2 separate regions of the Homo sapiens genome follow, and region 1 is linked to region 2. The links are contacts of gene promoters, found by promoter capture Hi-C in human tissues and cell types (Jung and others, 2019). All regions are on one chromosome and are shown on one strand. The core of a region is centred on a gene start or on the middle of the fragment in contact, and the rest is flanking DNA. Distances in the headings are between cores, read along the strand shown.

Region 1 (6,601 bases), core at 2,974-5,473, 570 kb before region 2:
TACTGCTGCCTACAGAGAAAGGCCCATCTGTCCACCTGACCTCCAGAATGGTTCCAATCTTAACCGCGTTAAGAGTAAAAGACTGCATTCTTTAGGGATTATAATGAGATGCCCCCAGTTAATGGAAATAATGTGACTCTCCCGAGAGCCAAAATGGTACACAAAATAAATGAGATTAGCCATCACTAGAAGTGACTTTACAGGATAGGTTGTCTTCCTAGTTAAAGCAAGAAACACAGGGCCTGAAAAGCTAATTAAGCTCTAATTGAAGCTGCCCACAGAACTGAGTGATGATACCACCCATGCTGCATAAAGCTGCCCACAGGATTAAGTCACATTAGAGATACAAAGCACTTAGCTCAAGGGATCCAGGCTGCAGGCACTCAATCTATTATCTAAGCCCCTTGGCTGTTCTGTTCTAAGTCTACATTGAAGACTAGTTTATCCACTGTCCTCTCTGAGTTTGGTACACTTGAGTCCTTCTTTGAGGCCCAGGCAGTTTGAGGGGCCACCCCTAAAGCTGATGTCTGAACTCTAGGCCATGGCGCCTGCCCCTAGGTATGATGCCTTGTGGAACTGGGAACTTTCCTCTGCTACTTTCATCTCCACTTTAATTGCTAGAGGGTGATAAGAATCCCAAGCCCTAGAGATGTTATATTTATAGTCAGTAATGCCACTGGTTCCTTCAAATTTTTGCTTTGGCAGAGAACAGCTCTTGGTTCAGAGTTCCCTTTGACTGTGATCTGCTGCCATTTCCCAAATTCTGGCATTCATGACCCCTTATGCCCTGAAAAGTCGGTCAACCCAGACTTTCAATCAGCTGCTCCCAAGCTGTACTTTTAGCACCTGGCACAGTATTCCTACACAAAGAAGAGATCAGTAAATGTTCATCCAATGAATGAAAACTCCAACCATTTTTCTTCATCACAAAGGCTGATGGAACTGATTCTTGAATCCAGCAGCCCTGGGCAGCAGCCCATTGTTCCTGCTCACCTCAGTTTAAATTTCAGAGCCTCTGAGGATGCAGGTCTAGCCTTAGGCAAAAGATGAGGGAAGAAAAGTTCTGGGGGTTCTACTGATTTGGGATCTCCTCAAAAAAGCTCCAAGATAATTTTTCTTCACTCTAAGCATAACCAGAATCTCTGGAGAGTGTGAGATTACTCACAAGGGATCCATGCTGTAGCATGCACATCCCCAGAGCAGTGAAGGGGCCAAGTGAGCTCTAGGTGCACTCTAGGGCCTAGGGGGCTGGCATCTGTAGCCATTAAAACCATTATCTCTGCTCCCTTACCAGATCAGGCCCAAGACTTTTTTGTCTTGGCCTGAGAAGCATTAAGTTAGGGCATTCTAGTTTTTCCTGGATAAAAGAGAGATAAAATCAAAGGAAGAGGAAGCCACTTTTTTTCATGGAACACCATTTTTTAACTGAAAGAATGACTTACTATTTAGACTTGGGTATTGGCAGACATTTTCTCAAAAAAATGAACAATGAATAAAATGAGCCTGTCACTTCAAGGAAAACAACTGACAGTATTTGTGGGCAATGATATAAAATGCAAGCTTTCAAGTGAAAATTAAAATTCTGAAACTTGCATCTACCACCATGAGTTTGACAGCTTCCAAATACTTGAAGACTTTTCTGATGAAATTGGTGGTGATATTAACAAATGTTATCTTTTGGCATTGTAAAATGAAATGGAAAACATTTGGAAGATGTGCAAAATCCAGTGAGCCTATTTTCCAAATGACCAAAGCATGATGGATTCAAAGCACTGGCTCGACCAATAGATTTTAGTGTAAATGAGTATGAAGACTTCACTGATATGGGCTCAAATTCAATAATGGAAATTATTTGGAAAGGCTACTGAAACATTCCTCCCTTTCTCACTTACATATTTGTGTGAGGTTGGATTTTTTTTCATATACTTCAACCAAAACAATGTATTGCAAAAGACTGAATACAGAAGCATATATGAGAAGCCAGCTTTAGTCTATTAAGCCAGATGAAAAGAAATTTGCAAAAATGAAAAGAAGACCATTCTTCTAATTTTTTTTTTAAGATGAAATCTCGCTCTGTCATCCAGGCTGGAGTGCAGTGGCATGATCTCAGCTCACTGCAACCTCCACCTCCCATGTTCAAGCGGTTCTCCTGCCTCAGCCTCCCAAGTGGCTAGGATTACAGGCGCCTGCCAATACGCCTGACTAATTTTTATATTTTTAGTAGAGACAGGGTTTCACCATGTTGGCCATGCCGGTCTTGAACTCCTGACCTCAAGTGATCCGCCTGCCTCAGCCTCTCAAAGTGCTGGCATTACAGGCATGAGCCACCACACCTGGCCATTCTTCTAATTTTGTTTTGGAAAATATAGTTTTCATTAAAAATTGTTATGTTAACAAGATAGCTTTAATATTGTCTTTCTTAAATAAATTAGTGACAAAATATTTTAAAGCTTTCTCAGCTTTAATATTTAATTTGGTAAGTATCAATAGATATAAACAACACAAACAAAAGCTCTTTGGGTTCCTCAATAATTTTTAGGAATATATAAGGTCTCCTGAGGTTGGAGGATTGCTCAAGCCCAAGTGACGGAGGTTGCAGTGAGCCAAGATTGCACCATTGTACTCCAAACTGGGTAACAGTGAGAGCCTGTCTCAAAAAAAAAAAAAAAAAAAGATAGCTCTCTGGGGGCATGACTCAATTTTCTAGCTTGGCCTTTCTGTCCACAATTTGGGAATAACCCATTGCCAGACCAGACAGCTGTCAAGGACTACTCTGAAGCTGGATTGAATTTCCAGCACTCAGCGTGGCCTCATTCATCCCATGGATTCTTTTTCATCTCCAGAGTTTGTGTATGTTCGTACAGGATTGCCCCAAGACACATGCTGTATCTAACCAGCTGCCCTGCAACAGGTCCCAAATTCTATTTTGAAATGGCCCATTAGAGCACTCTACTCTCAAGGCACCCAACTCCAAGAGCCTCTCTGTCACCAAGGCAGGCAGAGGACAACACCAGCAGCTAAAATTCCCTTTCAGAAGCAGAGAAAATGATTAATCCTCAGCCTAGAAAAACTCATTGTCATAGTTATCATCAGTCACTCTTCCATTCACCCATTTATTCCCTCATTCAACATTGTCAGAGTCCCTGTCTCCTGCCAATTGTGCTAAGTGCCGGGAAACATCTACCCTTGACAATTCCTATTCATTCCCTAAGATTCTGGTCAAAGGTCAATGAAGCTCTTGCTGGTCAAGCTAAGCACAACTGATTCTATTTAGTATAGCATCATCAAAATGTGCCACAGATGTATTCTGTCTGTTCCTAAATTCCTGGTAGAATGTGAGCCCTCTGGGGGCAGTGTGTGGACCTTGGTCATTTAAGTATGCCCAGGAACCTAGGCTTGGCTTGGGCCTGACACATTGCAGGCATTCACTGAATAAATAAATGAAAGCTTAAAGCCCATCTGGCTCATGTCTCAGCTGTTCAACACAAAGGCAGAATTTAAAACAGAGCCAAAACAGTGCATTTCCCAACATGCTATGAGTCACTCTGAGCCACTGATGAGAGGGCAATCAGTGAGAAGAATCTCAGACTATTCTAATGCTGACAATCAGAGCTGCAGTTAATTCTAAGAGAGCTGACACAACCCCACCTCAGTGCCCTGGAGCTGTTACCCAAACTTCCATGCAGGCTGTGGGCTCAGGCCCTTCCAGGAGGTAGAACAGCTGTTTCACACTACGAGACTAGTCAGTGGAGAATCCTTTCTGGTTGTACAAGCTCGGTTGGGAGTGAGTCTCTCTGATCCTAGTGACCTTAACCCTAAAACTTTCTGTTTTAATATCCCCACAAGGCTAGCTCATCCGCTGAACTGCCTCCTGGGTGCAATGAGCCACAAGGAGGGCCCAAGCCGCAGATTTACCTGAATCCTCAGGTCAAACTGCCACTCTGCTACTCTAACCCCAGCACACGTTACTCATGGAGGAGGAAGAGCATGAATTTTGGGGACGAGACACACAGTTGTGAGTTCAAATCCCAGTTGCCATTTTCAATATGATCTTGGAATATTACTCAATTTCTTTGAGCCTCAATTTCCTCATTTATGAAATGGGAATAAAACCATATTTTACAGAGTTGTGAGGACAGAAGGAAATAAATTATGTAAAGTACCTGGCCTGGGCCTGGCACAAAGTAGGTGCTCAATACCCGTTAGTTTCTTTCCTCTTCTGCCCTGGAAGAAATGACAGGGAAACTTACTAAGTGAGACTTGCCCAAACCAAATTTATTTCTTTTTTTTTTTTTTTTGAGACGGAGTTTCGCTCTGTCGCCCAGGCTGGAGTGCAGTGGCGCGATCTCGACTCACTGCAAGCTCCGCCTCCCGGGTTCACGCCATTCTCCTGCCTCAGCCTCCTGTGTAGCTGGGACTACAGGCACGCGCCACCATGCCCGGCTAATTTTTGTATTTTTTAGTAGAGACGGGGTTTCACCGTGTTAGCCAGGATGGTCTCGATCTCCTGACCTCGTGATCCTCCCGTCTCGGCCTCCCAAAGTGCTGGGATTACAGGCGTGAGCCACCGCGCCCGGCCCCAAATTTATTTCTTGAAGCAAAGGACAGAAGGACTAGACAAGTGACTTCAAGGCCTCTTTGAACCCCCAGCTCCTTGTTTTCTGGCTATAACTTCCTAATAAAACCTTCAGTGTTTGCAGTTCCACCAGCCCCTTCTTTCTGCTTTAGTTTCCCTACATCATTTTTCACAGTAGATAGATCTACTCGTAGCTACCACTTGTGCTAAGCATCCTAAGCATGGAGGGGGAAATAATAAAGGGAGCTAAGGGCCTTTGGTGGAGAATGAAGGGGAGATGGACTGCAGCATGTTGGCCCACAGGCTGCACAACCATGCAGCTGCTGTGCTGGGAGCCACCCAGAGTCTGAAGGATGAAGGCAGGCTCACAGGCACAGAACCGAAGGCACACACACAGGGCCCTTCCCAAGACATAGCATGCCTCTCCTCAGTCCTTCTCTGCTTCTGCACATCCTGCCAAGAAGGACCAAATACATAAAGTAGTCACACCTTCCCATATGCTGTTCCTTCTGCCTTTTTCTTCTCTTTTTTTTAGGCTCGATCTGGGTGTTACATCCTCTTAAGTCCACAGGAAGAATGAACTTGGCTTTGCTCTAGGATATCCTAACACTCTTTTGTTTAAAAACGTATCTCTAGAATAGAGCTTATCATATATATTCTAGTGGTTGAAATCTGTCCTTTCCACAATACTGTGAGCTTTTCAAGGGCAGAGCCTGTGTCCCACAAGTCACTGTATTGCAGTCATTCAGCAGAAGCTGTAGCACAGAGTAGGCACAGGTAAGTGTTTGGATACACAATGGAAGATTATACACAATGGAAGTTGGCAAATATCATTAATAGATCAGAACTGGGGGAAGGTTTTTTGTTCTGTTTTAAACTAAGGTTGTTTCTGTTCTTGTTTATGGAAAAGCTCCTCCCTGGGAAACCCACTGTTTGAAGAATACCCTAGGTCTCCTCAAAGATCCCCCTGGCACCCTCAATTCAGCAGCTCCCAGACCCAGTCACATGTCAGAGTCACTTGGGAACAATTCAACAATAGATACCTGGGATCCAGACCTGGAGACTGACTCTGTAAGTCTGGGATAGGGTCCAGCAAAGCACAGGGGATCTGATGATTATTAGCTTGGGGCAAGGGAGAGGTGGAATCAAGCAATCACAGCTGTCTCTCCCACTGAGAATTACTTCCTCACATGCTATCAGAGAATGTATTGAAGCACATCACGTTCTCTTTCCTGCTTAAAACCTTTCATTGATTCTTCACCACCTACAGGATAAAGCCTAAACCTCTTGGTGTGGTTTTCAAGAACCCTGCTAGCCCCTTCAGCCGGATCTCTCCCGACTCTCCAAATGAGTGGTGCTCGCCCTGGGTCTTTGTACAAGTTCCTTCCTTTGTTTAGACTCCTTTCTACCACCTTGTCCTCTGGAGAACTTCTACACAACCTTGAAGACTCAGCTCTGAGAAGCATTCTCTGACCCATCTTCCTCTAGGTTATGTCTTGGGCAACCCTGACACCAAATATCTACAATACTCAGAGCTACCACTTGTGTTAAGCATACCGCACTTGTTGGACCCTAACATTAACCATGTAAGACTGGATTGTCTTTTCTTTTTTTTTTTTTTTTTTTTTTGAGAAAGGAGTCTCGCTCTGTCGCCCAGGCTGGAGTGCAGTGGCGCGATCTTGGCTCACTGCAAGCTCCACCTCCCAGGTTCACGCCATTCTCCTGCCTCAGCCTCCAAAGTAGCTGGGACTATAGGTGCCCGCCACCATGCCCGGCTAATTTTTTTGTATTTTTAGTAGAGACAGGGTTTCACCGTGTTAGCCAGGATGGTCTCGATCTCCTGACCTCGTGATCCTCCCGCCTCGGCCTCCCAAAGTGCTGGGATTACAGGCATGAGCCACCGCGCCCAGCCTGGATTGTCATTTTATACATGAGAAAACAAACCAAGAGGCTGAAACACTTGCAAAGGCCACTTAATAGGGTCCAGGATTTGAACCTTTATTCAGAGGAAGCCGATGCTATATC
Region 2 (6,594 bases), core at 3,319-5,818:
TTACCAGGCACTGTGCAGGGTGCTTTAGAGGTGCTAGTTCACTTAATCCTCCCCTTTCAGAGCTGAGGAAACTAAGGCTCAGAGAGAGAAATTAAAGTGTCCCAGGTCAGCCAATTCAGGAAGTGGGTGCATCCAGGGAGGCTGGTTTCACTTCCCCTGGCCTGGTGCCCTGAGTGCCCCACCCCTTGGCATCTGAGCAGTGTGGCTCCCATGCCAACTCTACAGGAATGTCATGTCTGGGGGCAAGTGGCCCCTTGCAGGGGCATCTGCTGTGCAGGTCCAGGAAGGTAAATAAAGTTCACTGAATACAAGATCCCCCCATCCCAGCAGGAGTCCAGCTTGGCCTCTCCCATACTGTCCAGGCAGATGTTGGAGGGAAGAAAAGAGGCCTGGCCTCCTGTTGGTTTCTGCCTCCTCACCTCTGCCCAGCCCACTTTCTTCTCTCAAAGGCCTCAGCAAGGCCAATGGGAGGCCAAGGTCAAGGAGACGGGGTGAGAACAAGAGGCAGCCCGCATGGACAGGACAGGAGCGCAGTGCAGTTGAGCACCTTCTTTTTCTTTTTTTTTTTTTTTGAGATGGAGTCTCGCTCTGTCAGCCAGGCTGCTGGAGTGCCGTGGTGCAATCTTGGGACACTGCAACCTCCACCTCCCAGGTTCAAGTGATTCTCCTGCCTCAGCCTCCTGAGTAGTTGGAACTATGGGAGTGCGCCATCACATCTGCCTAATTTTTGTATTTTTAGTACAGACAGATTTTCACCATGTTGGCCAGGCTGGTTCTCGAACTCTTGATCTCAGGTGATCCACCTGCCTTGGCCTCCCAAAGTGCTGGGATTACAGGCATGAGCCACTGTGTCCTGCCTTTATTTATTTATTTATTTATTTATTTTTGAGACGGAGTCTCGCTCTGTCGCCCAGTCTGGAGTGCAGTGGCACCATCTCGGCTCACTGCAAGCTCCACCTCCTGGGTTCATGCCATTCTCCTGCCTCAGCCTCCCGCGTAGCTGGGACTACAGGCGCCCACGACCACACTCTGCTAATTTTTTGTATTTTTAATAAAGATAGGGTTTCACCGTGTTAGCCAGGATGGTCTCGATCTCCTGACCTCGTGATCCTCCTGCCTCGGCCTCCCAAAGTGCTGGGATCACAGGTGTGAGCCACCGTGCCCGGCCTTTTTTTTTTTAAAGACAGGGTCTTGCTCTGTCACCTAGGCTGGAGTGCAGTGTTCGATCATAGCTCACTGCAGCCTCTGATTCCTAGGCTCAAGGGATCCTTTTGCCTCAGCCTCTCGAGTAGCTGGGACTATAGGCACCACTGGCTTGGCTAATTTTTTATTTTTTTATAGAGATGGGGTCTTGCTATGTCGCCCAGGGAACTCCTGGGCTTAAGCAATGCTCTCACCTCGGCCTCCTAATGCGTTGGCATTACAGGCGTGAGCCACTGCACCCAACCCAGAATCTGAGTTTTCATCAGAACTTAGCTGTGACCTCTCTCTCTCTTCCTCATGCCATTTCTTGCAAGTGGATTCTTATAAGAACCTTCATTCAAACCCTCTCATAAACATCTCTATCACTGTCTCTCCCACTCAGTTGACAGAATGAACACCTTCTCGGCAGCTTCCAGCTTCCAGGTCCTCCTTGGCCCCATTTCTTTCCCTAGAGACCCAGGGGACCCGACCTCCCTGCCTGCCTGTGCCACCTCACAGGCCCCACGTCCAGCTGCGTGCACAAGCTCCTCTCTCTCAATGCTTCGGAGGCTCCCAGCGCCCACTTCAAGAGGCTTCTCTGGGTCTGCTCTCGGTTGCCACCTTCGTCCCTTCCCACCACTAACCTTTCCCACCCAGGGCTTGGACCTTGCTAGCAAGCTGAACGTGCCCTGCCTTCTCTAGCCCTGCTATCTGCTCTGCTGGGAACACTCCTCAGTGGAAATGCTTCCAGGACCATCTCAAAAACCATTGCTCCAGTGAGGCCTTTCCTTGGGTCCCCCAAACAGCCAAACAGGTTCTTGCTCTGAAACTTTATCTGTCCCAGTGAGTAACCCTACCAGACTGGCTCCTCAAGGGCTGAGACCCACAGCAGCTATTAATGAGTTTTCTTAGACAAGTATTCTGAAGTCTGGCAGTTCTATTAGAAATTCTGGCCGGGCGTGGTGGCTCACGCCTGTAATCCCAGCACTTTGGGAGGCCGAGGCAGGTGGATCACCTGAGGTCGGGAGTTCAAGACCAGCCTGACCAACCCCGTCTCTACTAAAAATACAAAATTAGCCGGGCATGGTGGCACACACCTGTGCCAACCAGCTACTCGGGAGGCTGAGACAGAAGACTCGCTTGAACCTGGGAGGGGGAGGTTGCAGTGAGCTGAGATCACGCCATTGCACTTCAGCCTAGGCAACAAGGGTGAAACTCCATCTCAAAAAAAAAAAAAAGTTGCCGGGCGCAGTGGCTTATGCCTGTAATCCTAGCACTTTGGGAGGCCAAGGGGGGGTGGATCACGAGGTCAGGGGATCGAGATCATCCTGGCTAACATGGTGAAACCCCATCTCCACTAAAAATACAAAAAATTAGCCGAGTGTGGTGGTGGGCACCCGTAGTCCCAGCTATTTGGGATGCTGAGGCAGGAGAATGGCGTGAACCCGGGAAGCGGAGCTTGCAGCGAGCTGAGATCGCACCACTGCACTCCAGCCTGGGCGACAGAGCAAGACTCCATCTCAAAAAAAAAGTTCTTTCAGCCAGGCATGGTGGCTCACGCCTGTACTCCCAGCACACTGAGAGGCTGAGGCAGGCAAATCATTTGCCTTAATTGATTTGCCCACCTCGTCTTCCCAAAGTGCTGGGATTACAGGCGTGAGCCGCCATGCCTGGCCAGAAGTTCTTCCTAGAGGTTCTATGCTGTCCTAGCAAGAATTGGTAAGAACAGCATAGAACACAAGGGGTTGCAAATTTGTGGGCCGTAGACCAAATCTGTTCCACAAGTGACAAGATGTTTTTTAATTGAGGTAAAATGTGCATACCATAAAATTAGCCGTTTTAAAGCAAACAATTCAATGACATTTGTATATTCATAACGTTGTGCAACCACCACCTCTGTCAGGCTCCAAAACATTTTCCTCATCCCAGAAGGAAACCCTATGCTTGTTAGGCAATCACTCTGCCTTTCTCTCTCCCCACAGCCTCTGGCTCTAATCTGCTTTCTGTTTGTCTGGATTTACTTATTATAAATGGCATCATTAACACATGTGGGCTTTGTGTCTGGTTTCTTTCACTTGCCATGTTTTGGAGGTTTATCCATGTTGTAGCAGGTATCATCAGTGTTTCATTCCTCTTTTTCTTTTCTTTTCTTTCTTTTTTTTTTTGAGACAGGCTTACGCCATCATCCAGGCTGGAGTGTAGTGGCACAATCTCCGTTCATTGCAACTCTGCCTCCTGGGTTCAAGCAATTCTCCTACCTTAGCCTCCCGAGTAGCTGGGATTACAGGCTCGCTCCACCATGCCTGGCTAATGTTTGGTGTTTTTGGTAGAGATAGAATTTCGCCATGTTGGCCAGGCTGGTCTCAAACTCCTGACCTCAAGTGAGCCGCCTGCCTCGGCCTCCCAAAATGCTAGGATTACAGGGGTGAGCCACCACATCAGGTCTTTTTTTTTTTAAGATAGAGATGGAGTTTTGTGAGTTGCCCAGGCTGTTCCTGAACTCCTGGCCTCCAAAAGTGCTGGGAGAGTTCAGACATGAGTCATCACATGGCGTTCATTTCTTTTTTATGGCTGAATAATATTCCACTGAATGGATCTACCATTGTTTGCTTACACCCTCATCAATTGTTAGTTTGGGCTGTTTCCACCTTTTGGCTCTTTGACTATTGTGACTAGTACTGCCAAGAACATTACTTGTTTGAGGACTATAATTGCCGGATCATATGGTAACTCTATGCTTAACTTTTGAATTAGAAACGGTGTTTTAATTTTTCGAATATGACTCCTTTACGTGTCTGTGTCTGTTTCCATGTCTTCCTACTGTCTTAGTAGGAAGCTCACGACTCATTTGCGTAATTTTTCTGGCCCCTGAAGGCACCTGATTTTGCTGCCCCTAGAATACTTTGGAGGCAAAAAGAAAATAACTCTGTGCCCAATTCAGCCAGAGTCGTGGGGTAAAATCTTTTCACTTCTCAAAGTACTACTGTGGTTCATCCCCAAAGGGGGGAAATCAGGTTTTCCGGAGAGGAGGCGGCTACAATTAGGGAGGTGAGGGACCTCACGCGCCTCTTCCTTAGAGGAGGCGGGCGAGGCGAACGGCGGAGGAGGAGAAGCGGGGGCGCTGTGCGCTCTCTGGGGCGTGGGCCGCGCTCGGGGCTGCCCACCCCTCGGGAACGAGCCGGGGCGCTCAAGGAGGCAGCGACGCGAGGCGCAGCCGGTCCAGGTTTCGCCCGCCACCGCCGTGCGGCGCCTCTGCGGGTCAGGGCCGGGGGCGCGGTCGGGGCCGGGCGGGGCCCAGGTTGGCTCGCGGGTAGGCGGCCCCGCCCCCCACATCCGGGGGCCGGGGCCGGGCTGTGGGCTTGCCGCGCGCCGGTGAGTCAGGCCGGGTTTTCCCTCCGCCTTTGGGGCAGGCGATCGAGCGCCGCGGAGCGCGTCCCTCCCTCGCCAATCCGGCTCCGGCGCCGGCGCCCGCCCGCGTTTTCCCGGCGCCTGCCGCTCCGCCGCTCCGACCCGGCACGCAGTCCCGGCCCGAGCCGACGCCTTGCAGGAGGGTTCAAATCCGCGCGGGGGAGCTGCGACGCGCAAGGGCTGCGGAGCCGCGGGCCGGCGAGCGCGTCGCCACCATGGTAAGTGGGGCGCGCGAGGGGCTGGGGACCCGGGCTGGACTCGGGGGGTGGGGAGGGGTGGGGCGGGTCGCCAAGGTCTTGTTTTCGGGCGTCCTTGGCAAAGCTGCTGTCCCGCTGGCCGAGGCTCCCGTCTGAGAGATGGGCGGGGGTGGCAAGGTGCGGCGTGCGCCCAGGTGTCCCCTGCTCCCGGTCACCGAGGCACCGGATCGGGGACCGACCCCGATGCTCCGCTGGAGGGGCAGGCGGCAGGCTACCTTGCTCTCCCCAACCCCTGCAAACGCGCTTTCCAGGGAGCAGCGCGCGGGACCCCTGCGCCACGGCTGGGTGGGGCAGGCGTCCTTGGCGCCGGCGTCTGACCTCGGCCTCCGCCCCCCGGCCCAGCCGCTCCCGGCAGGCCTCAGGGAGGGGCCAGGAGGAGACGCGCCTCCCACCCCGCCCCCCAGGTAGCTCCGGGACCTCCCGCAGCTTTGGGGAACCCTCGCCTTCACCCCTGCTTTCCTGACACAAATTCCGTGGGGATGCAACCTCGTTTGCCCCTCTGACTTCCCCATGAGATCTCTCGCTTCCTCCCACACCTCCTTTATCCCCCAACCCCCTGCCGGTCCACCAGGCTGCAGCTGCGGGTCTGCGGGTAGGGGACATTCCTAGGTCTTGACCGCCAGAGCACCCGGTCCAGTCCCGGCCACAGCCTTTGGCCCAAGTGAGGGCTGGCCTGGGGACAAGCCGAAATCAGGGCCCTGGCTGTATCCAGAAAGAGAACTGAGACCCGTTGCCTCCCACTGGGCCACCCCCCGACCCCAACCACATAGGAACAGATTGGGCCTGGCTGTCCTCGGGAGGGAGCGGACGCAGGAGGCCATCCTGGGCGCGGTTATCAGCCTCCTCCCAGGGCCCTCCCAGGCAGGGCTTCTCTACCGGCTGGCAGCGTGTGGTGTGCATGTGCCAGACTGTGAATGAATGCGGCCAGCCTGCCTCTGCCACCGCCTCTAGAGCTAGCATAGCGACTCGGAGTCCCCATGAGGCAGGTTTCCTCTATTTCTTCCTGACCTGGGGGGCAGCAGGAGGGATTCCAGGCCTGGTGGACCGCAGTCTAGGGCAGCCTGGTTGCAAGTGTCCTTGGGAGAAACAGGCATGGAGGGCTGGGCAGACATATATGCAATACATACACAGCAGTGTGTGCCCATGGAGGGGAACCCGTGACCCCTGGCTTAGGACAACCTGCTGAGGTAGAAAGGACCTTGCCCAGGGAGTTGAGATTGCTTCTCACTGTGGGATCTTGGATAACTCACCTCGCCTTCCGAGGCCTCAGTTTCCCGATCTGTAAAATGGCGTGAGGGTAATTACTGTCCTGTTTGCCCCCACGAGGCTATTGTGGAGATGAAATGAGATAATGAAATAGAAGGGCTGAGAAAAAACTGTAGACTGCGGTGCAGCCGTGAAGCACTATATGGTGATACTAAGCACCACTTCCGCAGGCTTTAGCCCCTGTCTCTGCCTCAAGTGTCTGTCACAGAGGGGATGGGGTGGGCCAGCCTCTCCCAGCCCCTCTCTGGGCCCCCCTTGCCTACTACCCCCCCCTTTTGGAGCTGGGACATTCCAGTCCCATTCCTTAGGGGCAGCTGCAGACACGCCCCTTAGCAGAGCTGATCCCCCAGCAGGTGGTGGGACCTTTCCCTGGGGCCAGGGCTCAGGAGGGGCTGACTGTAGCCAGGGCAGGCAGCACTCCTGCCCATGTGGGGACTGGAATGTCCCACCCCAGAGGAGATGCAAGGTGGGATCCGAGAGG

Evidence for each region. The method cuts DNA at HindIII sites, captures the fragments that hold promoters and counts their contacts. A contact is called where the count stands out against the background at its distance.
Region 1: a contact is called between a fragment that was not itself captured here and the fragment with the promoter of N4BP3 in region 2, in 3 of the 25 tissues and cell types used here (dorsolateral prefrontal cortex, spleen and thymus).

What each region holds. Positions count from the first base shown.
Region 1 is chr5:177,543,005-177,549,605 of GRCh38, forward strand. All of the region lies in intron 1 of FAM193B (family with sequence similarity 193 member B), which reads right to left. Among named protein-coding and RNA genes, the nearest start is that of FAM193B, 8.3 kb to the right of the region's middle. The HindIII fragment of the contact is 4,436 bases long and covers 2,006-6,441 here.
Region 2 is chr5:178,108,964-178,115,557 of GRCh38, forward strand. It overlaps N4BP3 (NEDD4 binding protein 3), which reads left to right and starts at 4,569. Exons shown (of 5, transcript NM_015111.2): 1 at 4,569-4,808. RefSeq lists silencers at 4,309-4,858, 4,939-5,258, 5,609-5,658, 6,269-6,378 and enhancers at 5,697-6,210, 5,739-5,798. The HindIII fragment of the contact is 21,734 bases long and covers 1-6,594 here.